Regions from separate parts of the Homo sapiens genome. Here region 1 is linked to region 2. Evidence: promoter capture Hi-C in 16 types of primary human blood cells and fetal thymus (Javierre and others, 2016). All regions are on one chromosome and are shown on one strand. The core of a region is centred on a gene start or on the middle of the fragment in contact, and the rest is flanking DNA. Distances in the headings are between cores, read along the strand shown. Region 1 holds the start of GPR15 (G protein-coupled receptor 15). Region 2 holds the start of ST3GAL6-AS1 (ST3GAL6 antisense RNA 1).

Region 1 (6,324 bases), core at 1,186-3,685, 200 kb before region 2:
GAGGCTGGGGTGGGAGGATTGCATGGGCCTGGCAGTGAGCTGTGTTCAAGACACTGCACTCCAGCCTGGGTGACAAAGTGAGACCCTAGTGAGACCCTGTCTCAAAAATTAAACAAACAAACAAATGAAAAAACAACTTAAGAAAGGACTTCAAATGTTTAATGACTATATTTTCATCTACAAACATACATTTTTCTATGAATAGCAATATCAACCTGAAACTAGAATTCTGAAGATTAAATCAGATAGGAGAGAAGAATAGTGCAAGAGAGCCTTGAGTCACTTTGACCAGTAAAGAGCTGAAATAAATGGAGTCCGTTTCAAAATGTGTTATATTTTACTATGGTCATCATAATATAAAAGGAAACATATGAGAGAAAAATGTGATAGAATTCTTTCTGTTTTAGCCTGTTCCCCAAGTGTTTTAAATGTACTAAAAAATCTTCCCTTTTATAGTGTCCATGCTGGCACCTCCATCATGATGTCACTTATAGGTATATCTGTTGCCAGATCAGCAATCAGCAATTCCAAAAGTGATGTTCACCCATGTGTGGAGGTACCAGAAGGCCATGGCTCAGAAGCTAAAAAAATCAGTGCTACACAGGTGTGGTATAATGAAGAGAAGATCAGAGGGGATCCAGAGTCTGATGAAGCGTATTTGAGGGTTAATAGGGAGAAAATCTCCTAATCAATGATGTTAACTCTTAACAAAAGAGAACTTCACTGGTTGAATTACAATAGCAGATAGGAGGGTAAAAATAGCAACTTGAGATTGTTAAACCTGTGTTTGTAAGTTACATAAATAACAACAATACCTGAAGTTAGACCCCAATGAATTCATTTCTACTAGATATGCTGGATAACAAAAAGAATTTTCTGAATCAAACCTAATAAACTACAATTTCCAAAGCACCAACTATATGCAAGATGCTATGCAAGTTGTAGTGGAAAACTTAAAATAATAAGAGCAGAAAACGTGGTCCCAGTCTTTGGGGGGGGATTTTTAAAAACTTATGAAACAGGATTGACTACATGTCAAATGAAAGAGCCACATAGATGGGGAGACTCTCATGCCCTAAATGGAATCATGTTGTTTGACCTAGTTGTATACTGGTATGATTTGGGAAACTTTTCATTCACTCTTTACACAATGAAAGACTAGTTTTCTTCCTAGTTCGCCAACAAAGTAAATAAAAAGAATACATTATCATTGCCTTACAATTCTAAAAGCAGAACAATATCTTCTATGTGAAACAGAAGGCTAGATCAAAATAAATTTCAGTGTCAAAAGCAAAGGAGGTCTTTAAAGGAAGTGAAAAAATCAAGTTAATTCACTTCTTAATTACTGGCCTTAAAGAAATAAATTGAATATCTTGAAAAAATAACTCAAAAAGCACCTCAGTTTCACGAGCAAATGCAAATTAAAAAAACCACAACCACAACCAACCAACACCAATCAGAGTGGTGCTCCTTGTGTGCCCTTTCTGAGGATTGGTAGAAACTGCATTTTTTAATCTCGGCTTTCATGTTTGTCCAAGATCTTTAAAGGGAGGGGAAAAAAGAGAGAGAGAGGCAGGCACTGTATAAAAGAAGCTTCCTTGAGGTTTCTAAAATTTATACAAAAACATCATATGTAAGTAAACTCACCAGATTTGGCATCTGCTCTTTGGTGATGGACCCAGAAGAAACTTCAGTTTATTTGGATTATTACTATGCTACGAGCCCAAACTCTGACATCAGGGAGACCCACTCCCATGTTCCTTACACCTCTGTCTTCCTTCCAGTCTTTTACACAGCTGTGTTCCTGACTGGAGTGCTGGGGAACCTTGTTCTCATGGGAGCGTTGCATTTCAAACCCGGCAGCCGAAGACTGATCGACATCTTTATCATCAATCTGGCTGCCTCTGACTTCATTTTTCTTGTCACATTGCCTCTCTGGGTGGATAAAGAAGCATCTCTAGGACTGTGGAGGACGGGCTCCTTCCTGTGCAAAGGGAGCTCCTACATGATCTCCGTCAATATGCACTGCAGTGTCCTCCTGCTCACTTGCATGAGTGTTGACCGCTACCTGGCCATTGTGTGGCCAGTCGTATCCAGGAAATTCAGAAGGACAGACTGTGCATATGTAGTCTGTGCCAGCATCTGGTTTATCTCCTGCCTGCTGGGGTTGCCTACTCTTCTGTCCAGGGAGCTCACGCTGATTGATGATAAGCCATACTGTGCAGAGAAAAAGGCAACTCCAATTAAACTCATATGGTCCCTGGTGGCCTTAATTTTCACCTTTTTTGTCCCTTTGTTGAGCATTGTGACCTGCTACTGTTGCATTGCAAGGAAGCTGTGTGCCCATTACCAGCAATCAGGAAAGCACAACAAAAAGCTGAAGAAATCTATAAAGATCATCTTTATTGTCGTGGCAGCCTTTCTTGTCTCCTGGCTGCCCTTCAATACTTTCAAGTTCCTGGCCATTGTCTCTGGGTTGCGGCAAGAACACTATTTACCCTCAGCTATTCTTCAGCTTGGTATGGAGGTGAGTGGACCCTTGGCATTTGCCAACAGCTGTGTCAACCCTTTCATTTACTATATCTTCGACAGCTACATCCGCCGGGCCATTGTCCACTGCTTGTGCCCTTGCCTGAAAAACTATGACTTTGGGAGTAGCACTGAGACATCAGATAGTCACCTCACTAAGGCTCTCTCCACCTTCATTCATGCAGAAGATTTTGCCAGGAGGAGGAAGAGGTCTGTGTCACTCTAAAGGGAACTGTGACATTTCAAGCTCTGTTGGTGGGTTTAGGAGTTAATTTTTGTCAGCAACAAAGAAGGAAGTGTTAATGATAGGATTCACATTGCTTCATAGATGCAAGGAAGAGTTCATTTTTAAAGAGAGGACTGAAAAATCCCTGTGTTGTGGATATAATTAGGCCATGTGCTGTTTTCTCAGCTAAGCAGCCTTCTTCGACCCTTGCCAATCAAGTCCACCAGACAAAATCCAATTCCCATCTGTCCTTGAACTCCTGGATAAAGGCTCCTGCTTGAACCAGTCCCTTTCTTCATGATTGTTAATGCACATTTGGGCCTTTCCTCTCTCAAAAACCATGGTACCTTCATCCCCACCACCCTTCATACTGGGCTCTAAATTGGACTACATTTAAATGATTCTGCCTACTTTCATCTGATGAGAAATGCAGTAACAATGCAGGTAACAAAAATATAATATACCTGCACTGTGCAATTAATTGTTTCTGAGTTACTAAGCTAGATTCTGACCTCAATCTTTAAAGCTTTGTATCGTGATTCTTCATCATCTTCCAACATTGTGCTTCATCCTATGCCTATTCACAATGGCTTTGGACTGGCAAAAAAAAACTCATGGGGATTTTGTATTGTGTTTATGATTTGGGACTTACTTTATCATATGGTCTTCTAGTATTTTAATACATAAGCATATGGCAGGATTCAACATCTATTTGCTTTATAAGATATTGATAAAAATGTATCTCATTCATAATGGTGTAGCAACTACTTTTTAATGGGGTTTTACTATGCTCTTTTGTTTCCATTGGCTTTATAAATTAGGATTTGACTTTGCTTTAATTACATGTTTTTAATTACCCAGTTATCTAGTTATCAAATGAAAATGTTATTACTAATATAATTGGAACTCATAAAATGCTTAGCTGTACCCCGATGCAGATTATCATTTTGTATTTTAATTAAAATGTTAGTGCTACACATTCCCTATAGTATCATTTGCTTGGTGCCTATAATTTCAAGATAAGATCCAGTAATATAGGGAGACAGGCTGCTCTGTATTCAGCCAAAGTAGAAAATCTCTAACAAAGATCTCACTAGTATTTTATATATATTTTTTCCATACCCAGAAACCTTCTTGAATTCCTTTACCCAATAAATATTTATTGAGTCAATTTGTACCTATATTCCTTTTGAAGACTTTGATGTGAAAAACATGTAATTAGTGGCAACCACAAAAGACTCTGCAGCAGCAAGCATGCTATTGTAAACATCTTTTGATTCAAGGGAAAGCGGGTTATGTTTTTACCTCCACTGTTGACTTGAATGAATTACCATTTTACTTCTAAATATTAGATTTGAAAATCAGAAAAAACTTAGAATCCTTTCAAAGACTAGCCAATTTAATTTCATCTCATGTATCTTTCACATGAAGAGAAACCTCAAATATCGGACATCTCCTTGTAGCCTAATTAGAAGCTGAAAATACAGTTTTTGGTTTTATAAATTGGCTAACTTGTTAATTTTTCTTAAACTGTTATTAAATAAAAATATAATTTCCTTACATAAGTATTCTTCTGGACTGTATTAATTTCTAACAACATATTAATATTAATACTAATTCTAATAAACTTTTAGTAAATTATTATGGTTATAGAAGAAAAGACCATGTAAATAATAACAAATAAATATTCTTGGAAAACTTCAAAACTAAATTCAATGCAATTGAATAGATCTCCAAAAGTTAAACAAAAACAAAATACAGAAGGTAGAAGACACACATTTCTTTAAAACAAATCGGCAAAAGCACTGTTACTAATCATGAAACTTACTGCCTTTGAAAAATACTGCCTTTAAAAAATAGCTGAATCAATCAGCTAAGTTATTGGTTGGGAAAGCAGAAAACCTGTGCTATTAATTTTAGCTTCACCCTTAATGTTGTGATACTAGTAAGGTCATTTTAACCTTTCATACTTAAATGTAGTTGGTAATATCTATGTCTATAGAATTATCAAGGATACTGTAAAAATAATAAATATAAATAAAGTTTTAAATGTGGAGTAAAAAGTTACTTTATAAAGTGATTTGATTTCTATTATTAATTATTGACTACTCCTTACAAATTTTCAAACTAACATCAAATAATACTTAATCATTCTCATTTTTAAAATATTGAGATTTTATTTCTACTTCTTCACTTTAATTTTGCTGAGAATATTTAAAATAACACCAAATAAAAATATGTATTATTGGTTTTTTAGTACTTTAAATAGATATAATAATTGTAGGCTTTAATAAAATCTTAGTTTATTTTACATTCATAATGTACCAGTTGTGAAAGAAAAAAATAGATATAATTTTATAGGTAGTACAACTCTAATAGAAAAAAGTTCAAAGCTTGATTAAGTTCACATGTTATTTTGTCATATATGGATTCTGCTGGTATGAAATGTAATTTACATTATAATAGCATTAAAAAGTTTATTACAAATTAGTTGTCTGACATTTTGCATATTTTTAAAATCATAGGCTGGGTGCAGTGGCTCACGCCTGTAATCCTAGCACTTTGGGAGGCCGAGGCAGGTGGATCACAAGGTCAGGAGTTCAAGACCAGCCTGACCAACATAGTGAAACCCCGTCTCTACTAAAAATACAAAAAATTAGCAGGGCATGGTGGCAGGCACCTATAATCCCAGCTACTCAGGAGGCTGAGGCAAGAGAATCGCTTGAACCCAGGAAATGGAGGTTGCAGTGAGCCAAGATTGCACCATTGCACTCCAGCCCAGGTGACAGTGCTAGACTCTGTCTCAAAAATAATAATAATAATAATAATAAAATTTCTTCATTTTTAATTTGAACAATTTCTATTTCTATACTTACGTAGATATTCTACATATACATATACATTCAGATATACATAGAATCACAGACTCATATTTATACCTTTTCATTATTTTTATTACCTGAATTAAACTAGCCTAAAGGCTAGTTTGTGATAATTTAATGTCATTAAAGAACAAATCAATACATTGCCAAGAATTTCCAGAAAATTACTCTTTCATCCTAACACAATCATGCCTTGCCAGTTATATCCAAAGTTAGGAAAACAAAATAAAATTTTTACAATTCAGAGTAATACACAAGGAAATCACTACAGATTAACATTATTTGTTGTCATTTGCATAAGTAGTCCAAAGTTACTCGGAGGATGTAAATGACAAATATAAAAGGATAGTGACCTCTCAAGCATTTCTCAAATAGCTTTTTGAAACTTACCCCAGAAAAGCTCTCCATTAAATCCTAGGTAATGTGTTGTCTGATACTTTATAATTAATTTTAAAAGAAATGTAATCAAGACACGCATAGTCGCAAACATAGTCCCAAACACATTTACTCCATTTGGGTTGTATTGAAAGGTTGAAACTAACCTGATATTCCTGGGAGTCCCTTAACCTGTCCACTCTTAACAAGTCAAAATCACTTCTGTAGTGAAAAGTTTTAACAGCAGTCTTAAAGGGAAGCTATGTGCGTGACTGAGAACCGACCATTACTAGGGGTCACAAGTTAATTTTT
Region 2 (6,354 bases), core at 1-2,500:
ACCTCGTGATCCGCCCGCCTCGGCCTTCGAAAGTGCTGGGATTACAGGTGTGAGCCACGGCGCCCGGCCATTTTTTTTTTAAAGTAAGGTTGGGAAAACAACAAATGATACCTCCTAGGGCTGTTATTACAATTAAGACAAATACCAGAGCACTTTGGCAGGTGGAGGCGAGCGGATCATTTGAGGTCAGGAGTTCGAAACCAGCCTGGCCAACATAATGAAACCTCATCTCTACTAAAAATACAAAAATTAGCTGGGAGTGGTAATCCCAGCCTGTAATCCCAGCTACTCGGGAGGCTGAGGCAGGAGAGTCGCTTGAGCCTGGGAGGCAGAGGTTGCAGTGAGCCAAGATCATGCCCCTGTACCCCAGCCTGGGTGACAAAGCAAGATTCTGTCTCAAAAAAAAAAAAAAAAAAAAGGACAAATACCAGAAAGCCCATCACAGATGAAGGACTTTGTTCCAGTTCGTGACACATTGCCAACTTTGAATTACATCCAAGTCCGTGGGTCTTCTCTCTGGGGTCAATTGATGGCACGTGATTACACTGCTCAGGGCCCAAAGGTTGGAGCTATGACTTGAATGTTTCTAGACAAGGAATTATTTGACAAACACACTTTAAAAAGTATTCAGAGCCATCCAAGTAAGAGGACATTAATAACGTAGGGTTTTGCCTATGGAGAGAAAAGAAAACGCAAACAGCACGTTCCACCTTCGTTCTCCCTAAAGTAATTTATCTCCTTCAAAAGATAAAAAGTACGAACACATTTGCCCTTGAAGGGCAGAGCCCCGGAATTCAGGAGCTCTCTGAACACTCCTCCCCTTCTGATAGGGACCAAACCTTCTGCTGAGCCTTGTGTCACAGTCAGTCCGCGGCGCCACAAGCCTCAGTGTTTACTTCTGCCGCCTGCCAGCCGGGCGGGGAAGGGGAGTACCCGGCCACCCCTCACTTTAGCTCCTGCAGCTTTCCAAACAAACCAGGGCGGGATGGGAGTGTCTTCTTGGCTGTGGAAATCGATCCTCCTACCTTGTCCTGAAGCCACCCGCCGCCTTTCCTCGTCCCTCCCTTCGCGGTGATTTTCCGGTCCCGGCGCCCGGCGAGGGCGCGCGGCTGGTGTCCGCCCCGCCCGAAAGGTAGGGGTTCGGCTGTGCTCCCGCCTGGTCCCCAACGCCTCACCCTCCGGGAGACCCGCAGCCTCCCACCACTTTGCACCTTCCTCCTCGAATTTGGGGGCGGCCACCGTGCAACTGGCGCCAGCCGCGGAGCAGGAGGAGCTTCCCGCGACTCCGGAGGCGCTCGGCGCAGTCGCCCGGGATTGGGGCTGGCGGGAGCCTGAGACTCCGGGCAGGGCTGCTCCCTCCTCTGCTCCCCCGCCAGATCCGCGGGGAAGGAATCGTGCCCGCGCCGCCCCTGGCCCGCGCCACCTTCCTTTGGTTTCTGCCGGCCTCGGGCTTCTGCGGCCCGATGTGGCAGGCGCCGCGAGAGAGGCAGCAGCCGGCTGGAGCAGCGGCCCCTCAGGTCTCGGAGCCCGGTGCGCCTCTGCGGTCGTCGCTCCTGGGCCTCGGCGGGTCACTCTTGCCGGCCGGCTTCGCTGCGGGTTTGCACTGCCCGGGTGAGGGAAATTGGGGGTGCGGGAAGACCGGTCTGGGCCGGGGTCCGGGCGGCCTGGGGTCTGTGCTGCCCCGACCCTCCGGCTTTGCAGCCTCTGAGGCTCAGGGTTGGGGGTGGGGACACGGAGCGCTGTTTGCCCCTCCACATATCCTGCCAGCACCAAGGAGGTGGCGTGCGGAGGCGTAAAGGGACCATGGGCGCTGGGACCCGCGAGCCAGCCGGCGTGCGCCGCAGCCACCGCCGAGAGGGCACCCGGGGATCCTGGAGCCCCAGTGAAGGGCGGGAGGGACGCGCAGCCTCGCGGGTAAGCCCAGGAGCCGTGGGGGCCGAGAGAATCTGCTCTGGGACCCTCTTTTGTCGAATCGCCGGCGAGGTTGTGCAATTGGGAAGCCAAGAGGAGTGTCCAGCTCCTCGTTCACTATTGTTTTCTTGTAAAAGGGTCTGTACGCGAGGAGGGTTGAGGGGTCTGGAAGGTTCTGGTCTCTTACCGTATAAAGTTTTTCGAGAAACCCTTTTTCCCTCCACAATGGAACTAGACCTAACAAAACAAGCTCCGAGGCAGTTTAGGAGAAAGGAGGACGGTGAGTAAATTGCAGTGTTTGGGCTGCTGTTAATTTTCAAGATAAGGGAGAAGCAACTTGTCATTTTGAGGCCGCCGGCTCCGGAGATCCCGGCAATCTCAAGCCTCTTTCTTGTGTGCTGTTATTTTGGCTTAAAAGAAAACCTATAAAAAGCGACGCCCAGAAACCAAAAACAAACCCAAAGCACCTTCTTTTAGGATTTTTCAGTAGCGAGGGTTGGCGGGGACAGTGGGGAGGAGCAGGAGGGGGAGAAGAGGTTGCTGTTGAAAGGTAATGTTTAAAAACAGTGTGTGGGGGTAGGGATGAAAATAACGTGGTGACTGCTAGTGTATCAGAAATCACACCGAGTCTAAAGTCGTAAGTCCCATTTGCCTTACGAGGACCAGCTGGGTGCTGTGAGTAGGTGGATAGTTAAGGAAACTGTAGATCTGCTGAAAGCTCCTCGTGGTCTGTGGTCTCGTGTCCACGCTGACCTTTGAACCTCGTAACTCTTCGGGTCTCCAGCGGCCACCTCTTTTAGGCTAGCCCGAATGTTTGACTTTCCGGTCCTCAATCTTCCTCACCTAGCTGCAGACCATAAAACTGTCTTTTTATTTACAGGGAGATGTTAAATATTTGGGAACATCTGCTCAGGCTGCCAGGTTATTTTCCGTTTGAAAGCATGCCGATTTGACATTTGCAAGTTGGTTTATGTTGCTTCCTTTTTGTTTCACTAAGAACGCTTTTCATACCAAGATCTGCGAAAAACGATGCCCTTAGACTGTTATTTAGTTTATTGTCTCTGAGTAAGGCCAAATTCCACAGAGGGTCTTTGGATAATGGCAACTTTGCTTATAAGAAGATAATTTTTCTAGAAAGTGTTGCATTGGTCTGGTTTCCTAAGCTGTTCTTGTGGTCATGTAGACTGGGAGGGGAGATCTTCATTCCTTGTGATGTCGCTTTCCTTGAATTGTATTTTTACTATAGTTCCACAATGTCTCAGTCCCAGATTGCACCATATGTTGTTTACATGGTGCAGTAAAATGGGACTGCAATTTTGACTACATTTCAGTAGATTTGTTGGAGATAGTTTGTTCTTATGCCCTATATCAATAATAATAATAAAAAACCTTTGAGGCTCAAGAATAGACAGTATTGACAGAATAATACCATTAAGAGACATACCATTTAAAAACATTAGTCTGTCTCCTGTGAAATTGTAAATCGTAGGTGTTCTCATTCAGTGGCAGACGACTGGATTTCACAGCAGTTTTCTTCTGTTGGAGACATTTCTGTGTTCCACATCATGTGGAACCTTATGGGAGAAGACGTGAGTAATGCCATGTTTCCCGCATTTCCCTGATAAGCATCATCTGCTAACCATGCAGACTGCCAGATGGCTTCCATGGAAATTGTGCTTCCATCCAGGAGTGGTGACCAGAGATCTGTTTAGTATGCATTTTAGGTGATGCTTATTGAGAAGGTGAAGGAAGCATGGAACTCCTATTTGGCACCCACTCTGATTTTTGGTGTGTTCTCATATGCTATTTTATTTAATCTTCCTGACAAAACTCCTGCAAGAAAGGAATTTTTAGCCCCATTTTATAGCTTAAAAAACCAAGATTGCCTTAGGTTGAGTTGCAGTGGCTCACATAAAGGTTTGACTCTACCTCTGCCTACACCATCCCAGGAATCCTCTGCAGTATACATTCTGCACAAATTCTTCCATTTCCTGTGCATATCTTTCTCCTTTGCCTGGCATATCCTCCATTTATATATACCTTGGTCTGAATATGCCTTTCTAGTTATCCCCAGGCTGGGCTTTTTGAATAGGTGGTCTGCGTACTTTGCCTTCCTTGTGACAGCTTTAGACTTTCACCAGCCAGGAACCTTCTATCTTCTGCACATCTCTGATGTGTCACTTAGGTGATCAGGGTCTGGCGAAATCTAGGAGTTTATGCTGTCTTCAATGGGCATATTCCAAAAGTTCTTTCCTTTCTGAATACATTTTCACTGAAGCTCCTACTCAAGCTATATGTTACCTGGAAGAGGTTTTCCCAGGGTTACATCCCCACCCTCACAGTTGAAATGAAACATTCTCTCCTGTCTGTCCCAACTGTGATGGATAATAGCACACATCACACATCACAGTTTCCAATTTAACCCTTAGGGGTTAAAATGGATTTTGATTTGGAGTGAGCTTGATGCATGGAATAGAATGTATACATTGGATATTATAGTGTTTTGGTAGGAAATTTTATTTACAATTCCATATCAGGATGTCAGAAACACAATTCCCTCACCATTGTGGGATAGCTGGAGTTCTTTCCCCTGATGGTGACACCTCAGCACTGAATCAGCTGCAGTGTCTCAGACTTGGTCAGGAACTTGACTGTCGTATAATCAGGCTAAGAAGTGCTGAGATTCTGGCAGTGAGGTTATGAAAGTAAAAGATAACAGGATCAGTAAGACCTGGTTTTCTTCCTTGTGCCCATGTTTGTTTTTCTTGGAGAGCTTTTGGTCATCTAGGAGGATTGTCCAGTTTACCTTTTTACTGCCACAAACTTTTGTATCTGACCAGGGGCCTTCCTCTTCCTGCACCATTGAGATAGAGGGAAAGGAAAGCACCTAGCCCTTAGGAGATTTTCTTAAAAACATTGGAAAGCTGAGTGAAAAGTTATCTTCTCCCCCATTCTCTCTTTCCCCTTCTTATATGCTTAGCCTAAGACAAAGTATACAGATAGCATCATTGCATACTTTGCAATGTATTTAGTGCTAGGCTTTGAAAGATGGTTTAAACATTGATTTACTTTTTATTTGGTTGGGAATGGAAAGATCTTTAGGACATGATGAGAACAAGGCCCCCAGAAGAGGAGACGGCAAGGAAGCTGGAGATTCCTCCAGAGGTGGGAGGGTTATTCTCACCTTCCACAGGTTGTGGAAGCAGGCCTGGAGTTGTTATGGCTGTGGGTCAGAGTCACTATGCTGAAAGATGGGGGCAACAAGGGAGCAGAAAGTGTTTTTTTCAGTGGACTTTGGGTGATATTCCATGTGGTCATCCATGAGATGGGACTTCCCTAATGGTCAACCAACATTCACTGAATGTCCACCATGTAACAAGAGATGTTCTTGTGGGTGGGGTTGGGAGCGTGCCGTGTTGGACACAGCAAAGCCCCTGCTCTTACAGAGCTTATGTTTTATGGGGGGCAGAGTCAAAAAATGAGTTACAAATACATGAGGCATGAGTGAATTTGGGTCGTTTGAGAAACAGAAGGTGCAGTGTGAGAAGAGAGTGGTTAAGACAATATGTAGTTAAAGAAGAGTGCAAAAGACGGAGTGGGAGGAGATGTAGTCAGTAAGATAGGAAGGCAGATTTTGTGGAGTTTGAATCGTATTCTAGTTAGAATTGGCATGCCTGGAGATTTTTGATGAGAGCCTAATTCAGTCTTCACCCAGTCATGATAGGCTTTCCTGTCTCTTCTTTTTCTTTCTTTTTGAGGTGGAGTCTTGCTCTGTCACCCAGGCTGGAGTGCAGTGGCTCGATCTCCGCTCACTAAAACCTCTGCCTCCTGAATTTAAGTGATTCTCCTGTCTCAGCCTCCCAAGTAGCTGGGATTACAGGCATGCACCACCACACCTGGCTATTTTCTGTATTTTTTTTGTAGAGATGGGGTTTCGCCATGTTGGCCAAGCTGGTCTTGAACTCCTGAATTCAGGTGATCCGCCCACTTCGGCCTCCTAAAGTGTTGGGATTACAGGCGTGAGCCACCACACGCGGCCCCTTCCTGTCTCTCTGTCTCTCTTTCTCTCTCTCACACACATAAACACACAAATTTCTACCCTTAGTTGCCTTTTTTTCTTTCTACTAATTTACCATAACTGATTTCCCCTCTCTTTTCCCTAGGGCAGAGCACAGGAATATCACAAAGACAGGCAGAGCTCAGAGACGCCTATACAGTATTCCTTTTATCCTCTTGTCCTTTGATTTCAAGATGTCTCATCATCACCACTCTATTAGTATCTAGGGAGACTTGGCACAATTTTTAGATAGAAAATTATTTTTGAGATTCTTTGGCCCATTGTTAACTCACATACTTAACTAACATACAAAACAACTAAATTATGGCTTTTCTGATTAACACAGTGGCATAAAACCTGAAACCTCAGGAGACCTATCTCACATT

What was found. Contacts are between HindIII fragments. The CHiCAGO score rates a contact against its expected background, and 5 or more counts as called.
Region 1: a fragment that was not itself captured here is called in contact with the fragment with the promoter of ST3GAL6-AS1 in region 2 in 1 of 17 cell types (neutrophils); the score reaches 5.6 in neutrophils.

Annotation. Positions count from the first base shown.
Region 1 is chr3:98,530,362-98,536,685 of GRCh38, forward strand. It overlaps GPR15 (G protein-coupled receptor 15), which reads left to right and starts at 1,617. Exons shown (of 1, transcript NM_005290.4): 1 at 1,617-4,320. The coding sequence starts at 1,673. The coding sequence ends at 2,755. RefSeq lists a silencer at 1,478-1,637. The HindIII fragment of the contact is 1,688 bases long and covers 1,592-3,279 here.
Region 2 is chr3:98,731,401-98,737,754 of GRCh38, forward strand. ST3GAL6-AS1 (ST3GAL6 antisense RNA 1) reads right to left here and starts at 1,251. Exons shown (of 5, transcript NR_046683.1): 1 at 1,026-1,251. It also overlaps a transcript of ST3GAL6 not described here. RefSeq lists enhancers at 717-1,465, 1,466-2,213. The HindIII fragment of the contact is 17,493 bases long and covers 1-6,354 here.